Regions from separate parts of the Homo sapiens genome. Here all the other regions are linked to region 1. Evidence: promoter capture Hi-C in 16 types of primary human blood cells and fetal thymus (Javierre and others, 2016). All regions are on one chromosome and are shown on one strand. The core of a region is centred on a gene start or on the middle of the fragment in contact, and the rest is flanking DNA. Distances in the headings are between cores, read along the strand shown. Region 1 holds the start of ITPRIPL2 (ITPRIP like 2). Region 2 overlaps CLEC19A (C-type lectin domain containing 19A). Region 3 has its middle 16 kb from the start of LINC02858.

Region 1 (3,124 bases), core at 490-2,989:
CCTCATGGATCTCAGTTAACATGATACAATAATGTGTGTGTGTGTGTGTGTCTATGCGTGCGTGCACTTAAGCCAGTTGGAGCTGTGTTTCTGTCACTTGCAAACCTAAGAATCTTGACTGGTAGATGATGATCTCATAGCTAATATTAGTAGATGGGATCTGAAGGCAGATCTGCTTAGCTCTCAGGGGCCCAATTTAGGATTTACTGGGAACAACCCAGAAGCCATCTTTTGAGTCCTGGTTCCCAGGTGGCAGCTGGGTTCTAACATGTTTTAATATATTCACCCTTGCTCTCTTTAAAGGTCAGTGCCAGCAAAGAAGGTGTAATGAGTGTGAATAAAGAAAGACAATTATTTAAATAGATCAGATTATTTCAGGAAGTGCTCCCTGTTATGAAACAAAACAAGCTTCCTAGGACTGAGGTTCCAATGTAGACCCAGACAAAGGACCCCCAAAATTCCCAGCAGATGAGGAAGAGACCTTCCCTGGGCCCCCTCCTGGGAGTTCCACCCCTTGGTTTCTGCCCAGCTCTACAAAGGCTGTGTAACCTTGTGGGGGAGGGGGGAAGGGGGGCAGCTGAACCTGCCTGAGCTGAACCTGTTTGTGCCCCTTTCCTCCACTGGGAAAATAATTTTATTTTAATTTCATTTCATTTTATTTATTTTATTTTTTCAGAGACAAGAGTCTTGCTCTGTCACTCAGGCTGGAGTGCAATGATGCTATCATAGCTCACTGCAGCCTCGAATTCCTGGCCTCACTCAAGCGATCTTCTCGCCGCCTCGGCTTCCCAAAGTGCTGGGATTACAGGGGTGAACCAGCATGTTCCGATGAAGTCTCAGGCCAAATGTCACCCCTGTCATCCTCTGGTTTCCACAGGGTAGCCAGCACCTTCTCACTCCCTCGGGCACTTTTGTTTATTTTAGAGCGTTTTCTTGCTGTGGAATCCTTCCCCCCACTTTTTTTTTTTTTTTTTTTTTTTTTGAGACGGAGTCTCACTCTGTCACCCAGGCTGGAGTACAGTGGCGCGATCTCGGCTCACGGCAGCCTCCGCCTCCCGGATTCAAGCGATTCTCCTGCCTGAACCTCCCGAACAGCTGGGATTACAGGCGCGTGCCACTACGCCTGGCTAATTTTTGTATTTTTAGTAGAGATGGGGGGCGGGGGGGGGGGTCTCACCATGTTGGCCAGGCTAGTCTCGAACTACTGACCTTAAATGATCCGCCCACTTCGGCCTCTCAAAGTGCTGGGATTACAGGCGTGAGACACTGCGCCCAGCCCCTTCCTTTTTTGATTCCCATTTTTACAAGGCTGTAAGCTTCACGAAGGACAGAAACCTTGTCCATCTTGTCAACTATGATTTCCCCAGCACTGTGGCTCCGACCTGGCACATGGTAGGTGCTCGGTGAATACTGGTTTGAACAGACGACTGCGGCAGACGGCAAGGGCCACTCCTGTGCCAGGGCCTGCCACGCCACCGCAGCTTGTGCGGTGGGGGTGGGGAGGACTGGACAGTCTGGCTGTGCGCCCTTTTCTCCTTTTCAACGTCCCAGTATAACTTCAAGGGAGCGCAACTCCAGAGGCTCCCTGGACGAAGCTACCGCCCCGGAATCAGGGCCTTCCCAATTCTGCCTTCGGGGAGGGAGGATGGGGGTGGGCCGCGGGAGGCCAGTTCCAAGAGCGTCCTGAAGTCCCTCCCGCCGCCCCGCGTCGCTTTAAGGCGGAGGCCCGGGAGGGGGCCGACCCGGCTCGCCAGCTCCACGCTCGGCTCCAGACTCCGGCATTTCCTCCCCGCTAGCTGGCGCGGCCTCGCCTCCCCCTCGGAAGAGGAAACTCCCGGGGTCCGAGTAACAGGGTCAGGCGCGGAGAGGAGCGGCGGGAGAGCCAGGAGGGCCGCCCAGGGTAGGAGGCGAGCCAGGCCGGGCCAGAAGCTGGCCGACGGCGGCGCGCGGGGGCGCCGGGCGGGGAGGGCCGCTGGGCCGGACTCAGCGCGCAGCCGGGGCAGGGCGCGGCCCGGGGCCCGAGAGCGCAGGGCGGGCCGCAGCTGGAAGGAACACTTGAGCTGGGAGAGGAGGCCGAGCTGGAGGGCGGCCTCCCTCGGGCCTGCGTTCGGGAAGCCGCCGCGGAGGAGGAGACGGGGACAGCGGGGCTGCCCGGGCGCTGTGCGCATGCTGGGCTTGGGTCGCCGCCGGGGCTTGCCCCCTGGGCTGCTCGGCCACCGCCGCCCCGGGCGCCCGGCATGTCGGTGCACTACACCCTCAATCTACGCGTCTTCTGGCCCCTGGTGACCGGCCTGTGCACCGCCCTGGTGTGCCTCTACCATGTCCTGCGGGGAAGCGGGGGCGCCCGGGCCGAGCCCGCCGACGGCGTGGATGGCGGCTTCCCGTTGCTTAAGGTGGCCGTCCTGCTCCTCCTCAGCTATGTCCTCCTGCGCTGTCGCCACGCTGTCCGGCAGCGCTTCCTGCCCGGGTCTCCCCGTCTGGAGGGTCACGCCGCCTTCTCCTCGAGACACTTCCGAGAGCCGGGCCTCAGCATCCTGCTGGAGAGTTACTACGAGCATGAGGTGCGCCTGTCTCCGCACGTGTTGGGCCACAGCAAGGCGCACGTGAGCCGGATCGTGGGCGAGCTGGTGCGGGCTGGCCGCGCCCGGGGGTCCCCCGGTCTCATTCCTGGGGGAGCGCTGGCCTTGGCCTTCCGCGGAGACTTCATCCAGGTGGGCAGCGCCTACGAGCAACATAAAATCCGCCGGCCCGACAGCTTCGACGTGCTGGTGCCACTGCGCCTCCCGCCGCTTGTGGCGCTGGAGCCACGGAGCCTGGGCGAGGAGCCAGCGCTGGCCCCGGCCTTCCGCGGCTGCTTCTTGTGCGCCCTCAAGGCACCACCCTCACCATCGGGGGCCTCGGGGGGCCACTGGCTTCGGGACTGCAAACCCTTTGCTGATGCCTTCTGCGTGGATGTGCGCGGGCGGCGTCACCTCTCTGCTACTCTGGTGCTGCGCTGGTTCCAGTCGCATCTGCAGCGCTCCTTGGCCACTGTGCGTTACAGCCTGGAGGGGCGCTGTCGGGTCACCTTGACCCCAGGTGGCCTGGAACAGCCCCCCACCTTACACATCTTGCCCTGCCGCAC
Region 2 (3,212 bases), core at 606-3,105, 170 kb after region 1:
ACTCAGGCTGGGAGGTTGCTTTCTAGGAGCTCAGGATGCAAAGGTGGACACTGTGGGCTGCAGCCTTCCTGACCCTCCACTCTGCACAGGCCTTTCCACAAACAGACATCAGTATCAGTCCAGGTAAGTGCAGGGACCAGGGCTGGGAGCAGGTGGAGAGGAGTACACTCTCAGGAACTTATTCTATCGGTGAGGCCTGGCAGCTTCTGTTGGGGGGTTGGGGTGGCCTGACCCGAGTCTCCTGACAGCTTTCCCCCTACCAGCTTTGTCATGGGCACTCTTCTAGGCCCAGACACAAAAAGTCCTGGGTTTGAATCCCAGTTTTGCAGTTTACAAGCTGTGTGACATAGAGGAAGTTTCTTGATCTCTCTGAGCCTCAGCTTCTTCTAGAAAGTTGGGTCGCAATGGCATTCTCTTTGGGCTACTGTGCAAGGCAGATAAGATAACATGAGGAAAGTGCTTTGCACAGTGTCTGGCACTACAGGAAGATCTGAACATGGTAGTTTTGTGAGGGATTTGGCATCTGGGCCCCAACCCCACCTTGGCTGTGACAGCCTTCCCAGGGAGCTTTCAGAGCTGCTGCAGTGCCACCAGAGGTTAGGTGCGCAGGGAGGGAGACTTGTCCCTCTAATGGCCTCCCTGGAGGCCTGGCCCAGCAACCCCCAGCCTTGTGGGGCATCCCCAGGGATGAGAACCTGTCAGCCTTGGGCATGTGGCCTCCCAGTGTCCCATATGGAGGGTGAGGGTCTTCAAATGAGCTCAACTTCTTCCACTTTGCAATAGGAAGGCTGGGTTACTGATTCTGGGGGACCCTCATCTGGATGAGAAGAGTTCTGAATCCTATAATTTGGTGGCCAAGAGTCTTGACTGTCACCTCTACCAGGTTCTTTCCAGGCTTGTTTATGTTCATATATGGATTTATTTATCATAGCAGTGGCAGAGATATCATTTTTAAATCCCCGTTCAAGTAAAACTAATAATGAAATACCTAGATGGAGATTCTCATAAGGCCAAATTATTGGGTTGTGATAGTGTTAGAGTGACTTTAAACAGAGGGTTGATAGGGTTGTCAGATAAAATACCAATAAATAAATATTAATAAATTATTTCTTAGTGTAAGCATGCCCCAAATATTACATGGGACGTATTTATACTAAAAATTATCTGTTTGTTTACCTGAAATCAAATTTAACTAGGTATCCTTCTTTTTTTTTTTTTTTTTTGTTAATCTAGCATCCCTAGTGGTAACAATAAGGGATAGTCTTAGCTCATTTGGGCAAGGGGTTTCAGTTCTGTCCTAAACTCTCTGAGTGTATTCATCAGCTCAGGCTGCGAATATCACAGACTGGGGAGCTTAAGCAACAAACATTTATTTCTCACAGTTCTGGAGGCTGGGAAGTTCAAGATCAGGATGCCAGCAGATTTTATTCCTGGTGAGGACTCTCTTCCTGGCTTGCAGATGGCCGCCTTCTCACTGTACCCTCACATGGCAGAGTAAGAGAAAGCTCTGGTCTCTTCCTCTTATAAGCACACTAATCCCATCATAAGGATGGGATCCCATCTAAATCTAATCACTTCCCAAAGGTCCCCCCTCCCAATACCATCACATTGGGAGTCAGAGCTTTAACATATGAATTGGGGGCAGGGAAGAGGAGAGACACAGACATTCCATTCATAGCAGTGACTTGCCTCCTTACTCTCGGACCTCAGTTTCCTCACCAATACAATAAGCAAGTAGGAAAGAAGTTGAACAAAATATCCTTGCAGACTGCGCCTCGTATATCCCAAGATCTTGCCTTTCTGCCCAGCAAAAGTGGGAAGGGGCCAAGACTGAGTTTGAAAGCGGGAGTAACTAGGGGTATTTTCTGTCCTTCACTAGCTTGTGCCCATGGGACCTCTCTGAGACTCAAGTTTCCTCACCTCTCTGAGCCCCAAGTGGGGATAACAAGGGTCCTTATCAAGGGTTTTGGAGATCTTCAATGAGCTCGTGCAGGTGAAGTGCTTAGCACATAGGAAGCATTTAAAAAATGAGTTATTGCCATTACTATGTTTGCCACTGTGGTTGTTGATGTTATACTAGAATTGGCCAGGAGACAGTTTTCTATTCTGACAAAAGTCTTCAACATTGAAAGGAACTTCTGAACATCAGTCCCCAAGCCTCATCCCTACTCTATAGATAAGGGGACTGAGATTGTGTCAATCTCAGCTACCTGGGAGAGCTCGCAGTTTGGAAATGGAAGGATGGGTCTTAAAGATCCACTCAGCCCAACCTTTCCATATTAAGGCTATGGAAACTGAGGCTACAGAGGCCAATTGAGCCAACCATGGTCATCACTGTCCAAGTGGCAGTTCAACTGCTTCCCAGGCTCCCAGCCCTACAGGAAGCCCAGTTTCAGCCTATGCAGATAGATTCTCTAGAGGAAAGTGATTTCAACACAGAGGGAATGTGTGTGAGTTTATGGGTGCATATGGGCAGGAGCGTGTGTGTTGGTATGTTGTAGGGAGGATTTAGGGGTCTCTGTGGGCCCCGGCCGACCATGAGAATACATGTACCTCCAAGGTCCTCCTTATTGAGAATAGGCTTGGTTTTTCATCTTCTTCTGTGGACCCCCAGCCTTTAGGTACAATGCATAACAGGGCACAGGTCATGGGTCATTCATCCCACTACTCCAGACCTTTCATCACCCACCCCTTGCATATGCAAATATACGCAAATAGCACAACTCAGCCACCCCCTATGTTTTGGAGGAAAAAAAACTTTTTAGACATCTCTTAGAGACTTGGGAGGATTTAGACAGACTAAATCCTTTTCCCAAAACCTTTTCTCTGAATCTGCCTTTGATCTCATTGTTTAAGTGGATTAATGAATGTAAAGTCCTCAGAACAGTGTCTGGCACCCAGTAAGAGCTACGTAAACATTTATTATTCTTCTTCGACCATCAAAAAGTTTCCTTTCCCTGACTCCTGAGCCCAAGAACTCTCTATAGCAAAGGAAATTTATAGCAAAGTGTTTTGAAGCTCAGGATCTGCTTCTGCAGGGCTTCAGAAGCGTAGAAGGGGAATAAGTCAGGTTATGTAGCCTCTTCCTCACCCATCCAAGAGCCTGGCATTGCACTCTCAGCTCTGGGAAGGTTCTGTGACCCAGACTGTTTCTACTGTAATAATATCTAATACTTACTAGAGTCTCTACCTCTGAGCTGGAACTGGCTTTT
Region 3 (3,200 bases), core at 524-3,023, 240 kb after region 1:
CTAACCAATCCAGAGCCCCAACCATCTGCATATTCAGACTCTTACACTCTTGGCCATTGTCCCTCTCCCCTAATGACCCCAGAGCCAGCTGCTGACTTAATCACATGAACCCTTAAAATCTGGGCACCCCACTGCCCCTCCTCAGAGTCCTCTGGCTTCCCTAACATCATAGTAAGCAGCTGAGCTGGCCCTGCTGCCCAAAACCTCAGCTCACCTAGAAGGGGAGCTAGGAGTAAACAGAGGGCTCTTGCCTGCCCTGCCTACCAGCCCCCCTGGCTCTCTCAGCCTGCTTTGCATTCACGACAACATCAATCTTGTTCAAACCCTGGAGCCCATAAGCCCCGCTGGGCTGGCTGCCTCTGAGTCACCGCACACCGGCAGACGGTGCTAAACTAATTTCCCAGCATCTTTGGGAAGGATTTGGTTTCTGTCTCCCCAGCTAAGAGCCATGCAGACGGTGGCAGCAGGCTGGCAGGACCTAGGGGCTCCCTGCCTGGTCTGGGAGAGCCCAGACTGAGATGCGATGCGATAAGATATTGATTAGCAAAGTGGCTGGGGGTTGGAGAAGGTCCAGGTTGCAGCCTGAACTGGATTAAGGGATGGAACAGCAGGTGCCAAACCTCAAGGATGGTGCTAAAACATCCCTGGAAATGTAACCAGATAGAGAAAAGTGTCATTATTTTTTACAAAGACTTTTTTTTTACAAAGATTAACAGGGCTCTTACCATGTATATGAATGATGTAATCTTCATTAACAATTCTACAAGGTAGGTACTATTTGTTATTGCCAAAGTACTGAGGCACAAAGTGCTAGTAACTTGCTCAAGGTCACCACCTGGTAGGTGATGGGGCCAGGTTTTTAACCCTGACCGCCAGACTCAATAGGATACCTCAACATTAGCCTGTCCAGGTGCCCACACATCTTAGCCGACTCTGCTGAGCTGTCAGAATATGCCTAGAAAGAACACACATATATCCCGTCTTGGTTCAAGGTGATAGAATCTTTCAGATTTGTCAACCTTACAAACCTCATCGGTAAAGTGGGAATACTGATAATACCCACAAATAAGTTTTAAGATATATAAAGGTTTAAGACACTAAGTATTAATAATGCTATTTAGAATCATTATAACAGAAAGGCCGCCAGTCCACTTCAATTTGACCATAACTCTAGCAGATGGACATTAAGATTCTACCAAATGGGCCAGGCGTGGTGGCTCACGCCTGTAATCCCAGCACTTTGGGAGGCCGAGGCGGATGGATCACAAGGTCAGGAGATGGAGACCATCCTGGCTAACACGGTGAAACTCCGTCTCAACTTAAAATACAAAAAATTAGCCAGGTGTGGTGGCACGCATATGTAGTCCCAGCTACTCAGGAGGCTGAGGCAGGAGAATTGCTTGAACCTGGGAGGTGGAGGTTGCAGTGAGCCGAATTCGTGCCACTGCACTCCAGCCTAGGCAACAGAGCGAGACTCCATCTCGAAAAAAAAAAAGAAAGAAAGAAAAGAAAAGAAAAAAGATTCTACCAAATGGACTTCTTTTCACCAAATCCTCTAACAAAGCAAATAGCAATAGAGCGGACATCGATTTCCTTTTTCCTTTTCCCTCATTGTCTAAAAGCTGTGGTGGATGGAATTGACCTAAATCTCAAATCCAAGGGTGGGACTTGATGGGTCCAAGCTTATCAGGGTATTTCCATCAGACTTGCCCTTGACTGGTTCAAGTAACCCAGGCCTAGCCTAAGCGAATCAGCTCAGTGATCCACGATTAGGAGAATTGGTTTAAGACTGGTCCAATCAACGGAGTTAGGATTTGTATTCATCAATTAAGGGCAGTGACTCGCCCTCCTCAGATATGAATAAAGAAGCTTGTAACCTTGTTTGTTGTTGATAGCTACCTTAAAGCCCTGGAGAAAGCCAGTTTGTGGATGAATCCAACTTACGGAGAAGGCAGTGCCAGAAGAACTGCAGTGAAACAGAGCTGGAATCTTGATCAAACCACACCAGAAGTGTCTCTGAAGCTGGCTTTTATTGTTTGACCTGGTTTGAGTTGGTTTCCTGTTACTTGCAACCAAAAGAATCACAATTGATAGACTAAACCATAGATAGCTTAAAAAATTATTGTGCAAAATTATATTAGTTCTTTGAGAAATTGGGAGAAAGGCAGGGGAGACAGAGTTTAGACAGAAAGTTGAGGTTTTTTGTTTTTGTGAGACAGGGTCTCACTCCAGTTGCTCAGGCTGGAGTGCAATGGTGCTATCACAGCTCACTGCAGCCTCAACTTCCTGGGCTCAAGCAATCCTCCCACCTCAGCCTCCCAAGTAGCTGGGACTACAGGCACGCACCACCACACCTGGCTAATTTTTTGTATTTTTAGTAGAGACAGGTTTTCACCATGTTGCCCAGGCTGGTCTTGAACTCCTGAACTCAAGCAATCTGCCTGCCTCAGCCACCCAAACTGTTGGGATTATAGGCATGAGCCACTGAGCCCAGCCAACAGAAAGTCTTTTACTCACCCACTAGGATGGCTATAATTTTTTTAAAGGACAAGAACAAGTATTGACAAGGGTGTGGAAATTGGAGCCCCCATATGCTGCTGGTAGGAATGCAAAATTATGCAGGCACTGTGGGACTGTCACCGTGTGGCAGTTCCTCAATAAGTTAAGCACAGAATTACCATATATGCCAAAAAAATTGAAAACATGGATTTAAACAAAAACTTATCCACAAATGTTCATAGCCAGAAGGTGAAAACAACCCAAATATCCATAAACTGATGAATGGATAATCAAAATGAGAGATACCTATGCCTTGCAATATGCGTTAATATCATTATGCAATAATATTCCTTCTTGGCCGGGCGCGGTGGCTCACGCCTGTAATGCCAGCACTTTGGGAGGTCAAGGCGAGCAGATCACTTGAAGTCAGCAGTTCAAGACCAGCCTGACCAACGTGGTGAAGCCCCATCTCTACTAAAAATACAAAAATTAGCTGGGTGTGGTGGCACACGCCTGTAGTCCCAGCTACTTGGGAGGCTGAGGCAGGAGAATGGCTTGAACCCAGGAGGCAGGGGTTGCTGTGAGCCGAGATCGCACCACTGCACTCCAGCCTGGGCGACAGAGCAAGGCTCCGTCTCAGAAATAATAATAATAATAATAAGATTCCTTCTTATTAAAAAGGAATGAAGTACTGATACATG

What was found. Contacts are between HindIII fragments. The CHiCAGO score rates a contact against its expected background, and 5 or more counts as called.
Region 2: a fragment that was not itself captured here is called in contact with the fragment with the promoter of ITPRIPL2 in region 1 in 1 of 17 cell types (M0 macrophages); the score reaches 5.0 in M0 macrophages.
Region 3: a contact is called between a fragment that was not itself captured here and the fragment with the promoter of ITPRIPL2 in region 1, in 2 of 17 cell types (naive B cells and M0 macrophages). The highest score is 8.8, in naive B cells.

Annotation. Positions count from the first base shown.
Region 1 is chr16:19,112,225-19,115,348 of GRCh38, forward strand. It overlaps ITPRIPL2 (ITPRIP like 2), which reads left to right and starts at 1,740. Exons shown (of 1, transcript NM_001034841.4): 1 at 1,740-3,124. The coding sequence starts at 2,238. RefSeq lists silencers at 1,742-1,841, 1,932-2,301. The HindIII fragment of the contact is 2,659 bases long and covers 1,315-3,124 here.
Region 2 is chr16:19,285,817-19,289,028 of GRCh38, forward strand. It overlaps CLEC19A (C-type lectin domain containing 19A), which reads left to right. Exons shown (of 5, transcript NM_001256720.2): 1 at 1-123. The coding sequence starts at 36. Among named protein-coding and RNA genes, the nearest start is that of CLEC19A, 1.7 kb to the left of the region's middle. The HindIII fragment of the contact is 4,175 bases long and covers 1-3,212 here.
Region 3 is chr16:19,348,707-19,351,906 of GRCh38, forward strand. No RefSeq gene overlaps it. Among named protein-coding and RNA genes, the nearest start is that of LINC02858, 16 kb to the left of the region's middle. The HindIII fragment of the contact is 187 bases long and covers 1,681-1,867 here.